Linked DNA regions of Homo sapiens: regions 1, 2, 4, 5 and 6 are each linked to region 3. The links are contacts of gene promoters, found by promoter capture Hi-C in blood cells and fetal thymus (Javierre and others, 2016). All regions are on one chromosome and are shown on one strand. Each heading gives the region's core, a stretch centred on a gene start or on the middle of the fragment in contact. The rest is flanking DNA. Distances are from core to core; before and after follow the strand shown.

Evidence for each region. Contacts are between HindIII fragments. The CHiCAGO score rates a contact against its expected background, and 5 or more counts as called.
Region 1: a contact is called between a fragment that was not itself captured here and the fragment with the promoter of PI15 in region 3, in 5 of 17 cell types (erythroblasts, M2 macrophages, M0 macrophages and 2 more). The highest score is 8.6, in erythroblasts.
Region 2: a fragment that was not itself captured here is called in contact with the fragment with the promoter of PI15 in region 3 in 3 of 17 cell types (monocytes, M2 macrophages and endothelial precursors); the score reaches 6.5 in monocytes.
Region 4: a fragment that was not itself captured here is called in contact with the fragment with the promoter of PI15 in region 3 in 4 of 17 cell types (endothelial precursors, M2 macrophages, megakaryocytes and 1 more); the score reaches 6.9 in endothelial precursors.
Region 5: a fragment that was not itself captured here is called in contact with the fragment with the promoter of PI15 in region 3 in 1 of 17 cell types (monocytes); the score reaches 5.3 in monocytes.
Region 6: a contact is called between a fragment that was not itself captured here and the fragment with the promoter of PI15 in region 3, in 3 of 17 cell types (M0 macrophages, M2 macrophages and endothelial precursors). The highest score is 6.2, in M0 macrophages.

Annotation. Positions count from the first base shown.
Region 1 is chr8:74,360,430-74,363,129 of GRCh38, forward strand. It overlaps GDAP1 (ganglioside induced differentiation associated protein 1), which reads left to right. Exons shown (of 6, transcript NM_018972.4): 4 at 1,455-1,549; 5 at 2,510-2,624. Among named protein-coding and RNA genes, the nearest start is that of GDAP1, 11 kb to the left of the region's middle. The HindIII fragment of the contact is 1,047 bases long and covers 928-1,974 here.
Region 2 is chr8:74,383,367-74,386,553 of GRCh38, forward strand. It overlaps a transcript of GDAP1 not described here. Among named protein-coding and RNA genes, the nearest start is that of GDAP1, 35 kb to the left of the region's middle. The HindIII fragment of the contact is 4,646 bases long and covers 1-3,187 here.
Region 3 is chr8:74,822,870-74,825,928 of GRCh38, forward strand. PI15 (peptidase inhibitor 15) reads left to right here and starts at 1,665. Exons shown (of 6, transcript NM_015886.5): 1 at 1,665-1,806; 2 at 2,341-2,653. The coding sequence starts at 2,381. The HindIII fragment of the contact is 3,900 bases long and covers 1-2,696 here.
Region 4 is chr8:74,401,817-74,404,672 of GRCh38, forward strand. It overlaps a transcript of GDAP1 not described here. Among named protein-coding and RNA genes, the nearest start is that of GDAP1, 53 kb to the left of the region's middle. The HindIII fragment of the contact is 1,165 bases long and covers 893-2,057 here.
Region 5 is chr8:74,333,318-74,336,155 of GRCh38, forward strand. No RefSeq gene overlaps it. Among named protein-coding and RNA genes, the nearest start is that of JPH1, 13 kb to the left of the region's middle. The HindIII fragment of the contact is 6,009 bases long and covers 1-2,838 here.
Region 6 is chr8:74,417,770-74,420,744 of GRCh38, forward strand. It overlaps a transcript of GDAP1 not described here. Among named protein-coding and RNA genes, the nearest start is that of GDAP1, 69 kb to the left of the region's middle. The HindIII fragment of the contact is 2,246 bases long and covers 411-2,656 here.

The DNA.
Region 1 (2,700 bases), core at 201-2,700, 460 kb before region 3:
TCATGGATGTGCATGTTATGGATCGATCCATGAACCAGTCGGATTAATCTGTGCTTCACTTGCTCAATTGGACATTTATTGTCTATAGGACCTGATTTATCAGCTCTTGGCTTTGAGGGCCAATCTTGGGTAAAACTCAGAAGAGTGGATTATGGAAGAGTAAAGAATATAACATGTTCTCATGAACAGATGGACTAGGAATCTGAAAACCTGGGATCTGCCTAGGATTATGGGCAGTTGAGTTCATGTTACTGGTCCTTAATTGTTGTTTTCGTTATTTGAGGAAACTGGACTAGAGGGTGTCTAACTATTACTCTGTCTCTATGTTCAGTGATAGTAGATTTATTGGGATTGAGTTGTGACATCCAGCTTTCTGCCTTCCTCCTGTCATGAGAATAGTCAGTGCATGATCTGTGGAGCAGGAGGTGTGCTTTATAGCAGAGATAATTGGAGATAAGAAGGGAAAGGATTGTGGCAGTGGTCACACTTTGGGAATGTTGATCAGAAACACTCAAACTCAGATCTTCTAAATCCAGAAACCATGTGTTCCCCATTATGTGATACTCACCTTTATTATTCTTATTATTCTTTTTTTCCTTTTTGATACCCCTCCTTTTCCTCTCCTCTCCCTTCCCTTTTCATCTCTTCCCTTTTCTCCCTTCTCTTCCTTTTTCTCCACTGCCCTCTCTTCCTGCTTCTCTTTCCTCTTATTCCTCCTCCTCTTCATAAATACCCTTTATAGTATTTGAAACAAGAGTTTTGACTATAATTCTATGACCTATAGTTAATATTTTTTAAAAATAAGGCTTTTTCCTCCCTTCATATAGGAGTTCATTATAGAAAGCTTGAAAGGTAGAGGAAGGCGGAGCAGCAAGCCTGCACTGAGCACTGTAAAGTGCTGGGCCTTGCTCTAAGTGCTTCCCATGAAGCTTCTCATTTAGTCTTCATGGCAGATATTCTTTGTTTTTTTCTTTTCTTTTTTTTTTTGGATGGAGTCTCGCTCTGTTTCCATGCTGGCGTGCAGTGGCATCATCTCGGCTCACTGCAACCTCTGCTTCCTGAGTTCAAGTGATTCTCCTGCCTCAGCCTCCCGAGTAGCTGGGATGACAGGCATGCGCCACCACGCCCAGACAATTTTTGTATTTTTAGTAGAGACGGGGTTTCACCACGTTGGCCAAGATGGTCTCGATCTCTTGACCTCCTGATCCTCCCGCCTCGGCCTCCCAAAGTGCTGGGATTACAGGTGTGAGCCACCGCGCCCAGCCGGCAGATACTCTTATGGTTCCATTTGAAAGGTGAGGAAACTGAGGCATAGACAGGGTAAGCCCAAGGCAGAGAAGCAGGGCATGAGCCCCAGAGCTCATGCTCTTGTCATTGAGTTTCTCTGCTTCTCCTTGTTACTGGTGTAGAAGGGAGAAAATAATTTTCTGTTTCCAAAATGTTTTTATTATCAGGCCAAATTGGAAACACAGAGTCTGAGCTGAAGAAACTTGCTGAAGAAAACCCAGATTTACAAGAAGCATACATTGCAAAACAGAAACGACTTAAAGTAAGCCAATCAGCTGTCCTCAGTTGACATACACTGCACGGAGTAAATGTTCTACTTTTTGTAAAGTACCACTATTTCTAGAATATCTTCTTTTAAATATTGCAGTTCACCAGTACACATGTTACCTTTGGCTTATGTTCTCCTTTTAGAAAGAATTTTTTATTAGACTTGATATTGAAACTTGATGACAAGTGCTTAACAAGCAGATATTGAGCATGCTGGTTGCCAAAAAAGTTATGAAATGCAAAGGAAGTTCATAACATATTCTAGAATCTGTCATTTCAGGTATTCCACCACTGGAAGTCCTCGCTAGACCTACATCCCTCCATGTGTCGCCCTGACTTGCTTTGCCCCCTGAGGAGTGTGCTTTATGGTCAGCCTTTCTCCTTCTGTTGATTCCTTCCCCGGGCCCAGCAACTATTGCAAGCTTCTCTCATATTAAAAGTGTAGAAAACAGCAGCACTCCCAACCCTCCCCAACTTCCCACCTTCCTTTATCCTATCGTAGCTAAACGAGCTCCTCAGAAGAAACACCTGCACTCACAGTCACTTGACTGACTCTCCACTCGCCGTTTAACTCCTTCACTCGGACTTCTTACTCATCCCTGACCCTTCAGCTACTCTTTCAATTACGGCTGCTAGAATTCTTTTCCTGAGTTGGGCTTGGCAGATGGCTCTTCGTGTCCCTCCCATTCTTTGCCTTCTGTGGTCATCTGGCCTCATAGGAGCTGCCAGTGAGTGGTGGGTCTGCTCCTGGGTCATTTTCACAGCTGGGATATTTCCCTTCAACTTAGCTCTCTCTCTCTCTTTTTTTTTTTTTTTTTTTTGCTGAGTTTTTCTATTTCTTCTCGTTGTCTAAAATAGGCTGAACTCTGTAAGAGTTTGTATCTGCTTTACCTAGATTTATTTTTTTTAAAGGTGCAAATAATATGTTTGGTTTCTTTTTTTGGTGGTTAATTAGTCAAAGCTGCTTGATCATGACAATGTCAAGTATTTGAAGAAAATTCTTGATGAGTTGGAGAAAGTCTTGGATCAGGTTGAAACTGAATTGCAAAGAAGAAATGAAGAAACCCCAGGTAGGTTCTCATTTATATTCTTTCTCTCTTTTCAACATCAGTATTATTCATGGGAACATTCTTAGGTCTCACCAAA
Region 2 (3,187 bases), core at 612-3,111, 440 kb before region 3:
TTGTTCCAAATGCATTCCACTGAAATTGTATCCCAGGTTAGTTAAAAGCTCATCTCTAGAAATCCCATTTCTTCTCTTGAGAGAGAAGGACCTGGCTGCATTTTGAGTAGTAGAACTGATTTCAAAAGTTTTAGATTTAATAATCTGTTTTTCAGTTTCTACAAATATTTCCATCCTTAATTTAAAAATGTGTTTCTCTAGCAAAAGAGAATCCAACACTATATATAAGCCTTGACAGAAATCTCATTTCCAAATCTTTCTTTTCATCTTCCTCCAGTCAGAGGCTTAATCACTTCTTTATCTACATCCTCTGACATTAATGAGCCATACCTCTTTTCCATACTCTCTCCATACAGTTGGAAGAAGTTATTTTTCTCTTAGTTTGCCAGTTTATCAGGTTTGGTTTTTAGCTGCACCTATTGCCGATTCACTTCTTCCATGAAGCCTTCCAATCAAAATCTATGAAATGCCAGAAAGGAAACACATACACTCACAAATATAACAGATATTTTTTCCAACCTGTGAATCAACCCTGCATCTTGGTGGTTGTAGGTATCTAAGAAGTAAGATCGTTTAAGTCTCATGTTGTTACATAACACGCATGAATTCAACCCTTAACTCCAAGGTGCAGATTTCCTGCCTCTGAAATGATGAGAATAATGATTTTATTATTTACTTCACAGGAACTTCTTATTTGGAATACAATCAGCTGAATTCAGACAATGCACTGATAACTGCTTGCTTTTTAAAACATTCTGATGTTTATTTTAAAAACAATTTGTTGAATTTAGTCCATTAATATATAATGTAAGTTAACACTTTCTTCCCCGAGAAGATTGTGTGTGTTCACGCCTCTTGTAGCTCCTGGTAATTCACTTCAATGGGGGAAATAAAAACTGGCAGTAACAAACTGTATTATACAATTTTTAAAAATTCTTCTCAGGCAATCTCTTTTTCAACCACTGTTTTGGTTCCAGAGCCCATGCATGAACAATTTTTATATTTTTCCAAAGTAAAAATTGTTTTCTTCAGGTCTTTTCTTTCCACTAGGAAGTCATGTTTTCCCTATGAATGGAACTTAAACCCCAATTGTTCAACTCTAAATTTAAAACCCACAAAATTTGGCCTAAAGTAAACAAAACACATTCAGTCTCTTGTTTCTAATTGCTCGAAATTCTATCCAGGTTTTCCAAAAGTTGATTGAGTCTTACCAACATTTTCTGTGAACCACACATGGATTTCAAGTTTACAGAGAAACCCCAAACCTCTAGAAATAAACCCCACATCAAGAAGATTTCATTTGGTTTCAGGTTTCACTACAAAAATTCAATATAACTTCATTAAAAAAGCACTAAGTAACACTGTAAGAAGTTGATCTCTGTCGCCAACGAAATGCCATGCTTATGTATCATTGTGTAGCTGCACCGACTTACATCTTTATGTCTTGAGTAAAATCCACTCTATATTTTGCAGTTACTACAACTATGCCCATTTTATTTATAGCTGAAGTCGCAATACTGACTTTACATGTTGAAATTACACTAAAAAGTATACTAAGGAACAATATCCATATGGGTATGGATCTATTCCAAACCACAGTTGAATGCTTTGCTAGCAAAGCAAATAATATGGATGCTAAATAGCTAAACACTAATCTATTAACTTCTACTAAAATACTAGAATCACAGAACTGGAAAGGGACTTTAAGGAATTTTTTAAAGATCATGGTACATCTTCTGCGGTAGGAATTAGATATTACCAAACCCAAGTCGCTTATTTTATGGATAAAGAGATAGGTGGTATATAGATCTTTTTATTATTATTATTATAGTTTAAGTTCTGGGATACATGTGCAGAATGTGCAGGTTTGTTACATAGGTATACAAGTGCCATGGTGGTTTGCTGCACCCATCAACCCATCATGTACATTAGGTATTTCTCCTAATGCTATCCGTCCCCTAACCGCCCCCACCACCAACAGGCCCCGGTGTGTGATGTTCCCCTCCCTGTGTCCATGTGTTCTCATTGTTCAACCCCCACTTATGAGTGAGAACATACAGTGTTTGGTTTTCTGCTCCTGTGTTAGTTTGCTGAGAATGATGGTTTCCAGCTTCATCCATGTCCCTGCAAAGAACACGAACTCATCCTTTTTTGTGGTTACATAGTATTCCATGGTGTATATGTGCCACATTTTCTTTATCCAATCTATCATTGATGGACATTTGGACTGGTTCCAAGTCTTTGCTATTGTGAACAGTGCTGCAATAAACATACGTGTGCATGTGTCTTTATAGTAGAATGATATATAATCTATATAATCCTTTGGGTATATACCTAGTAATGGGATTGCTGGGTCAAATGGTATTTCTGGTTGTAGATCCTTAAGGAATCCCCACACTGTCTTCCACAGTGGTTGAACTAATTTAAACTCCCACCAACAGTATAAAAGCATTCCTGTTTCTCCACATTCTCTTCAGCATCTGTTGTTTCCTGACTTTTTAATGATCACCATTCTAATTGGTGTGAGATGGTATCTCATTGTGGTTTTGATTTGCATTTCTCTAATGAACAGTGATGATGAGCTTTTTTTCATATGTTTATTGGCCGCATAAATGCCTTCTTTTGAGATCTGTCTGTTTCATATCCTTCACCCACTTTTTGATGGGGTTGTTTGTGTTTTTCTTGTAAATTTGTTTAAGTTTCTTATAGATTCTGGATATTATCCCTTTGTCAAATGGATAGACTGCAAATATTTTCTCCCATTCTGTAGGTTTCCTGTTCAGTCTGATGATAGTTTCTTTTGCTGTGCAGAAGCTCTTTAGTTTAATTAGATCCCATTTGTCAATTTTGGCTTTTGTTGCCATTGCTTTTGGTGCTTTCGTCATAAGTTTTTGCCCATGCCTATGTCCTGAATGGTATTGCCTAGGTTTTCCTCTAGGGTTTTTGTGATTTTAGGTCTTATGTTTAAGTCCTTAATCTATCTTGTATTAATTTTTGTATAAGGTGTAAGGATGGGGTCCAGTTTCAGCTTTCTGCATATGGCTAGCCTGTTTTCCCAACACCATTTATTAAATAGGGAATCCTTTCCTCATTGCTTTTGTCAGGTTTGTCAAAAATCAGATGGTTGTAGATGTGTGGCGTTATTCCTGAGGCTTTTGTTCTGTTCCATTGCTCTATATCTCTGTTT
Region 3 (3,059 bases), core at 415-2,914:
TGGTGCAACCCTAGTTGGACAGCTCCACTTGTTAAGATCTGCAGCTGTGAACAACCATGTGAATTTCCTCTAGTTGCTCCAATGTTTCATAATATCCTTGCTCACCTCCTGAGTTTATATATCTGTTTATGCCTTTTCAAGTTTAGTATTAATTCCTTGTTTAAAGCTCTCAATATTTCAGCTATGGCTCTCCTAAAATGATTTCACTTTAGTTAGGAGTTGAATAGTCATCAAAATGTGTCAAAACCTGGACTTTGGTATATATTATTATAAAGTCTGTATCTCATCACTGTAGTTTGAATTTTAGTGACACCTCTGGTACACCTCACTACCCTCTTAAAGAACTTGATGATGTCTGTCTCACCATAGAACGTGAATCTTTTCTCTCCCATTTTTAGGTGCACCAATGAAGAGTTAAACAGTATGCATTTGACCACACATACTACTCGTGATCCAACTGGGAATATATCCTAGGAAACTTGGCTGCCTGTCCAGTGTGCCACATGACCATCATTTCTGATGACTGTAAATTCACATAGTATTTCTTCTGCTGAAACATGTGGGAGACAATCACATTAGCAAGCTGGAAAAAATCAGTGTAAGTTAAGTAAGTTTCTAAACTGAAGAGCGTGTGTTTTCCAGGATTCCTATTGCTACTGACTGTAAGTGGTCCACATTTTGTTAATGAGATCATGACGCATTTTGGGGAGGGTCCTTTCATTATAGAGCACCAATGTTCACATTCTTCTTCTTGCTTTGCCTGACATAGACTTTGCCCCTGTGACATCCTCCTAACAAGGCACTTCTAATTGTTGGCAGCTGCTGCTGCTGTTAAAATTCTTCATGGCCTCTGTGTTATGCCCTCTAATACATTTCCTGAGAGGCTGAGCTATTCTCTGCTTAAAATTTCAACTATATGCTCTAAACCTGAAACAGATGTTATCTTGGCTGCTGTCATTTGCCATGAGCTTCTCTATTCACATTTTATACAAGGCAGGTAAAAAGCAAGTAATTTCTGACCTCACTCTGTAGAGAAAGAAAAAAGGGAGAGAAGGTAAAATAAGAGAGAGAAGAAGAAATATATAAAGCACAGGAATGCAGCCACATGGAAGCAGAGAACACAGCCACTTGAGCATCTATTATCCTAATATCATATGCTATAGTTTGGTTACTACCGATTTGCCTGGCATCCCTCTCGAATCATATTTGTGGCCACCCAGATTAACTATGTTAGCTGATCTCTTGATTTAATATCAGCTTGTTCTTTTTAGCTCCCATGTCATTTACTGTCTTAAAAAAATGTACTGCTTGTTACTCAACTGTCTGTTTTTTCATGAACCCACAGTCTTTTTTTTTTTTGTCTTTGTTTCTTCTTTTTTGTATGGGAACCAGGAACTAGAAAGCATAAAATGAGAGAAATTACTCACAGAAAAGGTGGAAGCCCAGAGAAAAAGGGGTTTGTCTTTTATGGCTTGTACTTTGTAAGCTGTGGGTGTGACTCAATTTCCTCACCACCCACATAAAAAGGTTGCCACCCAATCACTGTTTTTTTCTACCCCAAACCCCTCCCCTTTGATTTTGGCTAAGAGAGACCCTTAGAAAGACTGCCCTTTCTGGACGTTGCAAACTGTGACATATAAAAGCTGTTAGCTGCTCCTCTAGCCAGCAGCATTCAAACCTTGCAGAGCTTTGCTCTCAGAGAGTTTGTAAAAAGACACACTCCTCTTACAAGAGTTCATGCTACCACATAGCAAAGAACCTTAAATTTTTGGAAGAACAATATATTCATTTTGGCATTGTGCAGAGGTAAGCTATTTAGCTCAACAAGTTTATATTGCATGCATTGATTTTAAAGTAGCTCACATTTTTTTAAAGAAATGAGATTGGATTACTATGACTTTTTTGTATGTGTTCTATCACTTGGTGTGTCTATATGTCTGGCAGACATTATCAGCACATTCTCTGTTGTTACCTGTGATTCATTTTTTCTTCACTCTCCAGGTGAATTTCAATTGCTGAAAATTTCCCACTGAAAATATGCAGTAATATATTTTGTGGTTCAGACATTTGGGGCAAATGGTTCACATTCATTTTAGGGTTAGTGGTCATGCTGTTTATTTTTCTCTGCTATACAAAGTTCCTCTTAGGGGTCTGCCTCATGACACTAAAAAATGAATAGAGATTCTACTGTAGGTTATCTCCTAGGCTTGAGTTCAACATTTGTTTGGATTTTTGAAGAAAGTCAAATCAAGCAATGCTCCCAAATGATGTCTTTGTAAATTCATACCCTCTGGCCCTATTTTTTTTCATAGACCCTAACTCTACCTTTCTGCTTTAAAGCAAAGTAAACTCGGTGGCCTCTTCTTCTCCACCCCTCAAAATGATAGCAATCTCTGCCGTCAGCAGTGCACTCCTGTTCTCCCTTCTCTGTGAAGCAAGTACCGTCGTCCTACTCAATTCCACTGACTCATCCCCGCCAACCAATAATTTCACTGATATTGAAGCAGCTCTGAAAGCACAATTAGATTCAGCGGATATCCCCAAAGCCAGGCGGAAGCGCTACATTTCGCAGAATGACATGATCGCCATTCTTGATTATCATAATCAAGTTCGGGGCAAAGTGTTCCCACCGGCAGCAAATATGGAATATATGGTAAGAAGAATTCTTTTTTTTTTTTTTAAGTTCTGAGTGAGAAAGCTTTATATTGTACATCTGCAGAATCTCAAACGACCACGAGTGTTTATATGTCCGGGTATATGGACTTTTTACATATTTTAACCTAAGGTTCTTATGTGCCTAATAATGTTGAGTACTGTTGCATCACAGAATCAGAGAGACAGAGAGGTCCAGAGAGACAGAGACAGACAGATAGAGAGAATCTATGTAGACTTTCTTCTGTGAGTTCCATAGCTACTGGTGAATTGTATCTTATGTAAGAATCATAGATAAAAAGTGGGGTATGTTGACTGATCACATTTGGAAGGTCCACTTTAAAAAAAGTCACATGAACTTTTTCTGTGCTTTATCTCACAGTCATATTTATCAGCTATATCATTTC
Region 4 (2,856 bases), core at 225-2,724, 420 kb before region 3:
CAGTCCAGACCCTGTTTGCCTGGGTATCAGCAGCGGTGTCTGCAGAACAGCGGATTTTCTTGAACCGCGAATGCTGCTGTCTGATCGTTCCTCTGTAAGTTTTGTCTCAGAGGAGTACCCGGCCGTGTGGTGTCAGTCTGCCCCTACTAGGGGTGCCTCCCAGTTAGGCTGCTCAGGGGTCAGGGGTCAGGGACCCACTTGAGGAGGCAGTCTGCCCGTTCTCAGATCTCCAGCTGCGTGCTGGGAGAACCACTGCTCTCTTCAAAGCTGTCAGACAGGGACATTTAAGTCTGCAGAGGTTACTGCTGCCTTTTTGTTTGTCTGTGCCCTGCCCCCAGAGGTGGAGCCTACAGAGGCAGGCAGGCCTCCTTGAGCTGTGGTGGGCTCCACCCAATTGGAGCTTCCCGGCTGCTTTGTTTACCTAAGCAAGCCTGGGCAATGGCGGGCGCCCCTCCCCCAGCCTCGCTGCCACCTTGCAGTTTGATCTCAGACAGCAGTGCTAGCAATCAGCGAGACTCCGTGGGCGTAGGACCCTCCGAGCCAGTTGCGGGATATAATCTCCTGGTGCACCGTTTTTTAAGCCCTTCGGAAAAGCGCAGTGTTAGGGTGTGAGTGACCCGATTTTCCAGGTGCCGTCTGTCACCCCTTTCTTTGACTAGGAAAGGGAACTCCCTGACCCCTTGCGCTTCCTGAGTGAGGCAATGCCTCGCCCTGCTTCGGCTCGCGCATGGTGCGCTGCACCCACTGTCCTGCGCCCACTTCTGGCACTCCCTAGTGAGATGAACCTGGTACCTGAGATGGAAATGCAGAAATCACCCGTCTTCTGTGTCGCTCATGCTGGGAGCTATAGACTGGAGCTATTCCTATTCGGCCATCTTGGCTCCTTCCCCAAAGCTTTTAATTTTTTGCACTAAAAGCAAAAAATACTTTTACTTTAAATATAAACAAATGACTTTTTTGCATATACAAAAAATCTTAAAGTTAACCTGTAAAATTTCCAATTTAGTAGAAGTTACTCCTTCATAAAATTATTTGTCAAGATATATCTGAACAGATATATAATTGATTATTCTTATTCTTTTGTTGTTGTTGTTGTTGTTGAGTTGTTCTAAGTAAAGACAATTCAAGTTTCAATGTATGATGTTTTTCAAAAGTTAATGAGAAAAAAGTTAATGGATATGTAGGAATTTATAGCACCTGGATAGAAATAGTTCTATAATATAAAAATGGACATTTTCATTACAAACACATACACGATAATAGTGCCCAAACAATCTGATGTTAAAATAAGCTAATTTTATATCTCGCAGTGATGGGAGAGTCATTCTCTGGGTGTATTTGGCCTATTAAAAACATTTAAATATTTCATTTAGTTTGACTACACTGGGTTTTTAAAAATGATATAGATGCTTTATCTTAATTGTTTAAGGTTTATTAGTATTGGAGTCTCCATCCTACCAATTTCATTACAGTATTGACTGCATTTTATTGTTTTATTTGAATAAAATCTAAAAGGAGGAAATAGAAGAAGAGGGGATTGCAAACAGATTTAAAAGTTTAATTATTAATTTTTTTTCTATCCTGTCAGAGAAAAGCACAGGGCATGTTTACATGTTTTATTTGGGTGAATATCTCAGTTTACCCGTTCTACATAGGAGATGACTAGAATTGCAAATGAACCCAGATGGTGGAATTTTCTTTTCTAAACAAGCTGGCCAAATATTTATAAGTTTTACACACTTAACGTTTTAGCTTTTGCTGGTGAAGCATATCTACTAAATTTCACCAGAAGTTCCAGTAAAAGTATATGGATTATGGTCAGCAGCATTTGGGTAAGACATTTGGGCAGATTTCTGACCTTGCCGGGTCTCTGTAGTGTATGTGTTAGTAACTTTTACAGATCACTTGATAGAACAGTGAGGATGAACTGTAATCATTAGAAGCGTACTGCCTGTCTACCTATGTTTAAATGTGAACCTTGATGGAGCTGCTTTTTTGTTAAGACTCAACTGAGATTTAAAAACTCAATACTCAAACTAAGTTGGTGTTATGTATAAAGCTTTGACAGTCTATATCTGCAAAGTTTTGTCTTTTATTCTCTTTGTTGAGCAAAATGTGTGAATAACCAGTCTTTAAATATGAGCCTGTAAAAAAGAAAGATCATAGGATAGTATTTTGAGTTTATCCAGTACAAATAATTGAGAATGTTAGAAATCTCTATGATAATAAAAAGATCACGAGACAAATTAATTCGTGATTAATAAAAATAATGATAATGGCTATTTCTTGAGTATTTACAATGTACCAGGAATATGTTAAGTGATACCTGCATACTCTCATTTGATTGCTAAGTGAGAATTATTTACTTTGTGCATTAACTTAAAAAAAATCCTGTCTTAGGCTTATTAATCACATCACTGTAATAATAGTATTAGGTTGGTGCAAAAGTAATTGCAGTTTTGACTATTACTTTTAAATGGCAAAACCACAATTACTTTTTCACCAACCTATAGTAGCTAGTATTTAGTAATATCATTAATAGTAATAGTAATATCATTTTCTAGATGATTACTATGTGCCGGGCCATTTATATGAATTAACAGAATCAATCATGGCAAAACTCTTCAAGATGTATATTATATAAATATATTTAATATAAGTTATTAAGTTATTCTCATTTTAAGAAGTGAATATACTGAGATGTAGAAAAGCTGAGTCACTCACCTAAGGTCACATGGCTACTCGGTGTGGAGTGAAGACTCCAGAAGCAAGTCTGTCTGGCCTCAGAGATTGCATTCTTAACCACTATTCTGTAATACCTCTCAAAGCTCTGTTCCTTACAAGTCCATGCTTATT
Region 5 (2,838 bases), core at 72-2,571, 490 kb before region 3:
TTAGGTGATGACACAGTAAAGTACTCCCTGCCCTAGCCCTTTGTGGTTTCCAGCCACTTTAGAATGGCTGGAACCCTTGATTGAGCTGACGAGTTTCATATGGCCCTGGACTAGCTGGACATTGTGGCAACTGGGCACATTGGCCTGTCCCTGTTTGTGAGTATCAGCATCTGGATTAGCTGGATTTCCTGTCTACCACTCCTGGGGGTTAAGAGCAATGTTGAGACAGGAGGGGTATAGGGTTGAACACACAGGAAGAGAGTATGTTCAAGTGATCCTGGGACCACCTACTTCAGATTTTTTTTCAAGATGCTCTTTATTGTTGGATGAAAAAAACCAAATTTTTCTTTTCTACTACTATAAGCGTGTGGTGACTGCTGAATCATATATATCCCAAGAACTACTCTGTCCAAGCAGTAGTGGAATTTTGCCTACAAAATACAGCTTCTGAGGTCATTTTCATACTGACTATGGTGTATATTTTGTCTCTGATTAATGTCTGAGGAGGATCATCTTCAAATGCTGTTTCAGTTTATGATTCTTCCTGTCAAAGGCCACAGGTTACTTATTCTCAAAATGTATTGTTCTTTTAGATTGTTCCATGTTAACATAATTCATTAATTAAAATATTTAAAAATGTTAGAAAAGGTCTTTTCCACTCCTTACAGCTATTTCAGTGATGTGAATATCATCTTCAAGATTTCCTTTTTTCATTTACTGAATATATATGTAGCAAGTACCTTCTAAATAGAGTGCTTTGTAATGGGTATAAGGTCGTTAACTCCCTGCCCTCAGGGAATTTACAGTCCACTGAAAGGATAGATATTAAATCAATATATCATTGCCAATTGTTGTGCTACAGAAGAAACAGTAGTGCTATAAAAAAGAATAGCAAGGGATACTTTGAGTTAGATTGCAAGATCAGGGAAGGCCTCCCCATCCATCCCTGCACCCACCTACCCATCCATCCATTCATTTGTCCATTCATCCACCATTTATTCATCTATCTGCCTGCCTGCCCATGCATCCATCCATCCAACCATCCATCTACAGTCTATTTGTCCATTCACCCACCCATCCGTCTGTCTATCCATTTATCCACTATCCACCCACCCGTTCATCCATACATCATCCATCCATCCATCCATCCACCTACCCACTCACCCATCCATCCATCACTCATCCATCCATCCACCCACCCATTCATCCATCCATCATCCACCCACCCACTCACCCATTCATCCACCCACCATCTATCCACTCATTCATCCATCCATCCATGCATCTACCATCTATTCATTCACCCATTTATCTACCCACCTTTTCATCCTTCATCCATCATCCACCCATCATCTATCCATCCACTATCCACCCATCTACACACCCATCCCTCTATGTGGTCGCCTTCCGCCCATCCACCCATCCATCCATCCATCCACCCATCCACCCATCCATTCTTCCAATAGATATTGCTCAGATGCTTCTCTAAGAAAGTGACATTTAAGCCGAGCTCTGGAGGATGAGTAGGAGACAGCCAGAAAAGTAAGTAGTTCAACTGGAGAAGAGGAAATAATTATGAAAAGAGTGTGGCACAATGAGTGTGGCACATTGAAGGGACTGAGAAGGCTCATTGAGCAAAGGAGAGGATCTTGGTGAGAGATGATGGTGGGGAGGAAGGCAGGGACCAGGGCCTGTTTGTGATCTTACTCTAAGAGTTCAGTAAGAAGCAATGACTGTTTAGTCACTCCTCCCATAGCTGAGGTTGGGCAGAGAAAGCAAAATAGGCAGAAGTGTAGTATTAGAAAATACAAAAAGGTTGTTAAATTCTAGCCCTCCCTATTGGTTCTGATACGTATCCTGAAGCAAGATGTGACCCCTCTACTATAGAACAGTGTTTATTTTTAAACTTGAGAAATCCAGGAATAACTTTTGAAAGAAAACAAAAATGTGTTCAGACCTTTCTCCCATGGTGGATTAAATTTTATTATTTTTATTTAAATTTACAATCATTGTATATGTGTACTTTGATACATAAAATATAAGATACACCTCCGTATGCTTATAGTTTATTTACAACATAAAGCTAACATAATTGAAAACAAATAATATTCAAGTTAACAACCTGAATTTAGTGTGACAGATGATGTTTTTCATTTTAAAATGTTACGGTACTACCCATGGAGCCACACTCCTAATTTCAGCCCATGCGTCCTGCTAGATGCTGTTCAGGACTCTGCTTTGTGATCTAGTAGGAAGTCTTTCTTTGTACAGTGTGCTGGCATACCATTTGGCTATTGCTCGGTGGAGATGCATCAATTATGTATTAGGTCTGCTTTTCTTCTCATTAGTCAGAAACAATTAAAGTAGAAGGACTTAGTGCCAAAGTCAGCCTAAACATAAACATAAAATCAGCCTCTGAAATCAAGTAACAGCCCATGGAGATGAAAAATCTGGAAAGAATCAGCAGACCCCTTAGGATACATGGGTGAACTCCCATGGGTACGTGGACTTCTGTTTGGAATCCTGAGTGGATTATTCCTAGAGGAAAAAAAATAAAGGTAATGATTTCTTCTCACATAGATCCATAGGGACAGGATAAATTATACCTTTTAACATCCTAAAAAGGGATCATTAGACCCCAAGGTTTGGTATGGTCAAGATCAAGTGATCATTAAGATCTGAGACTAAGGAGAGACCAACTTGAGCGAGATCACACATCTCTGTGATTCCTGCTTATGGTATCCAGGACAAGCAGAATTAGAAAAAGGCGACTGAGAGGTCTTTGCCTCCTTGGCCATGTGGCTGAAAAAGGCTTAGAGAACTAGGCTCCAAAGTCAA
Region 6 (2,975 bases), core at 284-2,783, 410 kb before region 3:
AAAAAAAAAAGGAAAAGAAAAAGAAAATCCCAAGATGAATATAAACAAATATTGTAAATTAACAAGTGAGTTTATCAAGGTCAAAGAATGTAAGATAAACACATGAATATCTATCCTACTTTTATATGCTAGGAATAAACAATTGCAAAGAAAAAATTTGAAAACTACCAATTCAATAGCTTTGAAATACATAGGCATAAATCTAGCAAAACAAGTACTGGGATCTATATATTGAAAATGACAAATTGCTGATGAAAGAAATCTAAGAAGGCCTAGATAAGTGGAGAGACAAATTGTTTTCATGGATTGGGAATCTCAACATTTCAAAGATTTCAATTCTTCCAAACTGATTTGTACATTTAATGCCATTCCAATCAAAATCCCGGCAGATGTTTTTGTAGATATAGATAAGCTTGTTCTAAAATTTGCATGGAAAAGCAAAAGAACTACAATAGCCAAAACAATTGGCTAAAGAGAAGACCAAGTTGGGGAAATTATGCTACCCAGTTTTAAGACTTACCACAAAGCTACAGTATTCAAGTTGATGTGGCATTGGTGAAGGGATAAGCATATGGGTCAATTGAACAAAACAGAGAGTCTAGGAAATAAACTCACAGAAATATGGCCAATTGATTTTTAACAAAGAAGCAAAGGCAATTTAGCAGAGATATTATAATGTTTTTGGCAAGTAGTATAGGAACAATTGAATATCAATATTAAAAACCTCAACCTAAATCTAATGCTTTGAAAAATTAACTCAAATTACTTCACATATATAGATGAACAACAAGTAACTATAAAAGTTTTACAAGAGGACAAGGGACTGTTGTGCCCTGGATTAGGCAAAGAAATCTTAGGCATGACACTAAAAGCATGGTGCATAAAAGGAAATCTTGATAGAATGGACTTCATCTAAAATAAAACTTTTGCTCTCTGTTAAGAGCTCTGCATTAAGTGTTAAGACAAGGAAAAGACAAAATACAGACTGGTAGAAAATATTGGCAAATCTCATATTCAGCAAAGGTCATGTATTTAAAACATATAAACAACTATCAAATGCAACAATTATAACAAACTATTCAATTAAAAAAATAGACAAAAGACTTTAACAGACATTTCATCAAAGAGGATATACAGATAGCAAATAACCACTTCATAGTTATTTAGCATCATTAATTGTTAAAGAAATTCAAATTAGAAGCATGGTAAAATAACAGCAAAACGTTTATTGGAATGGTTAAATTAAACATACTGGCAATACCAAGTGCGGGAGAATGCAGATCAAGTGAAAGTCTCATACATCGCTCCTGGGAAAGCAAGATGGTGTAGTCACTCTGAAACATTCTTCGGCAGTTTCTTATAGTTAAACCTGCACTTACCATATAACTCAAAAATTCCACTTCTAGGTGTCTACTGTAGAGAAACAAAAACTTGTGTTCACACAAAACGCTTATATAAATGTTTATGGTGGTTTTCTTCATAATTGCCTCCAAGTAGAAACCATCCAAATGTCTTCCAACAAGTGAATGATAAACTGTGGGGTATTCATATAATGTAATAGTTCTGAACAATGAAAAAGAATGTCCTATTGATACATGCAACAACTTGGAGGAAGCTCAAAGGCATTCAGAGTAAGAGAGGCCAGTCTCAACAGGTTACATTCCATTTATATTACATTCTTGGAAAGAAAAAACTGTAGCAATGGAGAACATATTCGGGTTTGGGGATTTGCCTATTTTAAAATTGGGATGCTTGCTTTTCTTGTCATTGAGTTGTAAGAGTTTATGTATTCTGGACACTAGACCCAAGAGAGCTATTATTTGAAAATATTTTCCTACACCCTGTAGGTTGCCTTTTCTTGATAATGTCTTTTAATAGAAAACATTTTTAAATTTAATGACATTATATTTATTTTTTCTTTTCTTGCTCATGCTTTTGGTGTCATATCCAAGAATCTATTGCCAAATCCAAGGTTATTAAGAATTATCTCTGTTTTCTTCTAGGGGTTCTCTGGTTTCAGCTTTTATACTTAGGGCATTGATCTATTTTCAGCTAATTTTTATATATGGTGTGATGTAGCCAGTCCACCTTCATTCTTTTGCATGTGGATATCCAGTTTCTCAGCACCATTTGTTGAAGAGACCATTTTCCCCATTGAAATGGTTTTGGGACTCTTGATGACAAAAAATTGGCCATACATATATGGATTTATTTCTGAGCTCTCAATTCTATTCCATTGGTCTCTATGTTTGTCCTTATGACAATACCACACTGTTTTAATTACTGTAGTTTTGCAGTAGGTTTTGAGATTCGGAAATATGAGGCCTCCAACTTTGTTCTTTTTCTGGATTGTTTTGGCTGTTTGGGATCCCATGCAATTCCATATAAATTTGAAGACTGGCTTTTTTATTTCTGCAAGAAAAGGCTATTGGAATTTTGGTGGGAACTTCATTTTTTAAATTATAGTGGAGTGTCATAAAAAATGGAAGTGGTCAGTCTTTTATGCTCAGGCCCTGGTTGAGTATCAACATAATAAAGTAGGAAAAGCCTGGCATTTGTAATTTATAGACCCAGGTTCATGTTTCTGGATCAGTTGCTTAATTTTCAGGGCCTTACTTTCTACACTTAGGAAATGAAGGTATCAAAGAGAACTCTAAGCTTCCTTTAACTCTTATATATTATAATTGTAGGTTAGCATAGAATAAAGCCAAGTAAAATGTTGGTGAGAAATTTCAGAGGATAAAGGATTCTAATGGTTCACTGTCCTATAACAACACAAACAGTAACAACAGCAGCAGTAACAACACCTGCAGCTACCGTCTCTTGAATGTGTCAGATGCTGTGCGGAGTGCTTTGCATTACCTACTTCATTTCTTCCTTAATGTGACTCTCTGAAGTAGTTATTATTATCACCATTATACAGATAAAGACAACGAACATCAGTTTGTCTTTTGTGTTCAAGGTTATGTGGGTAG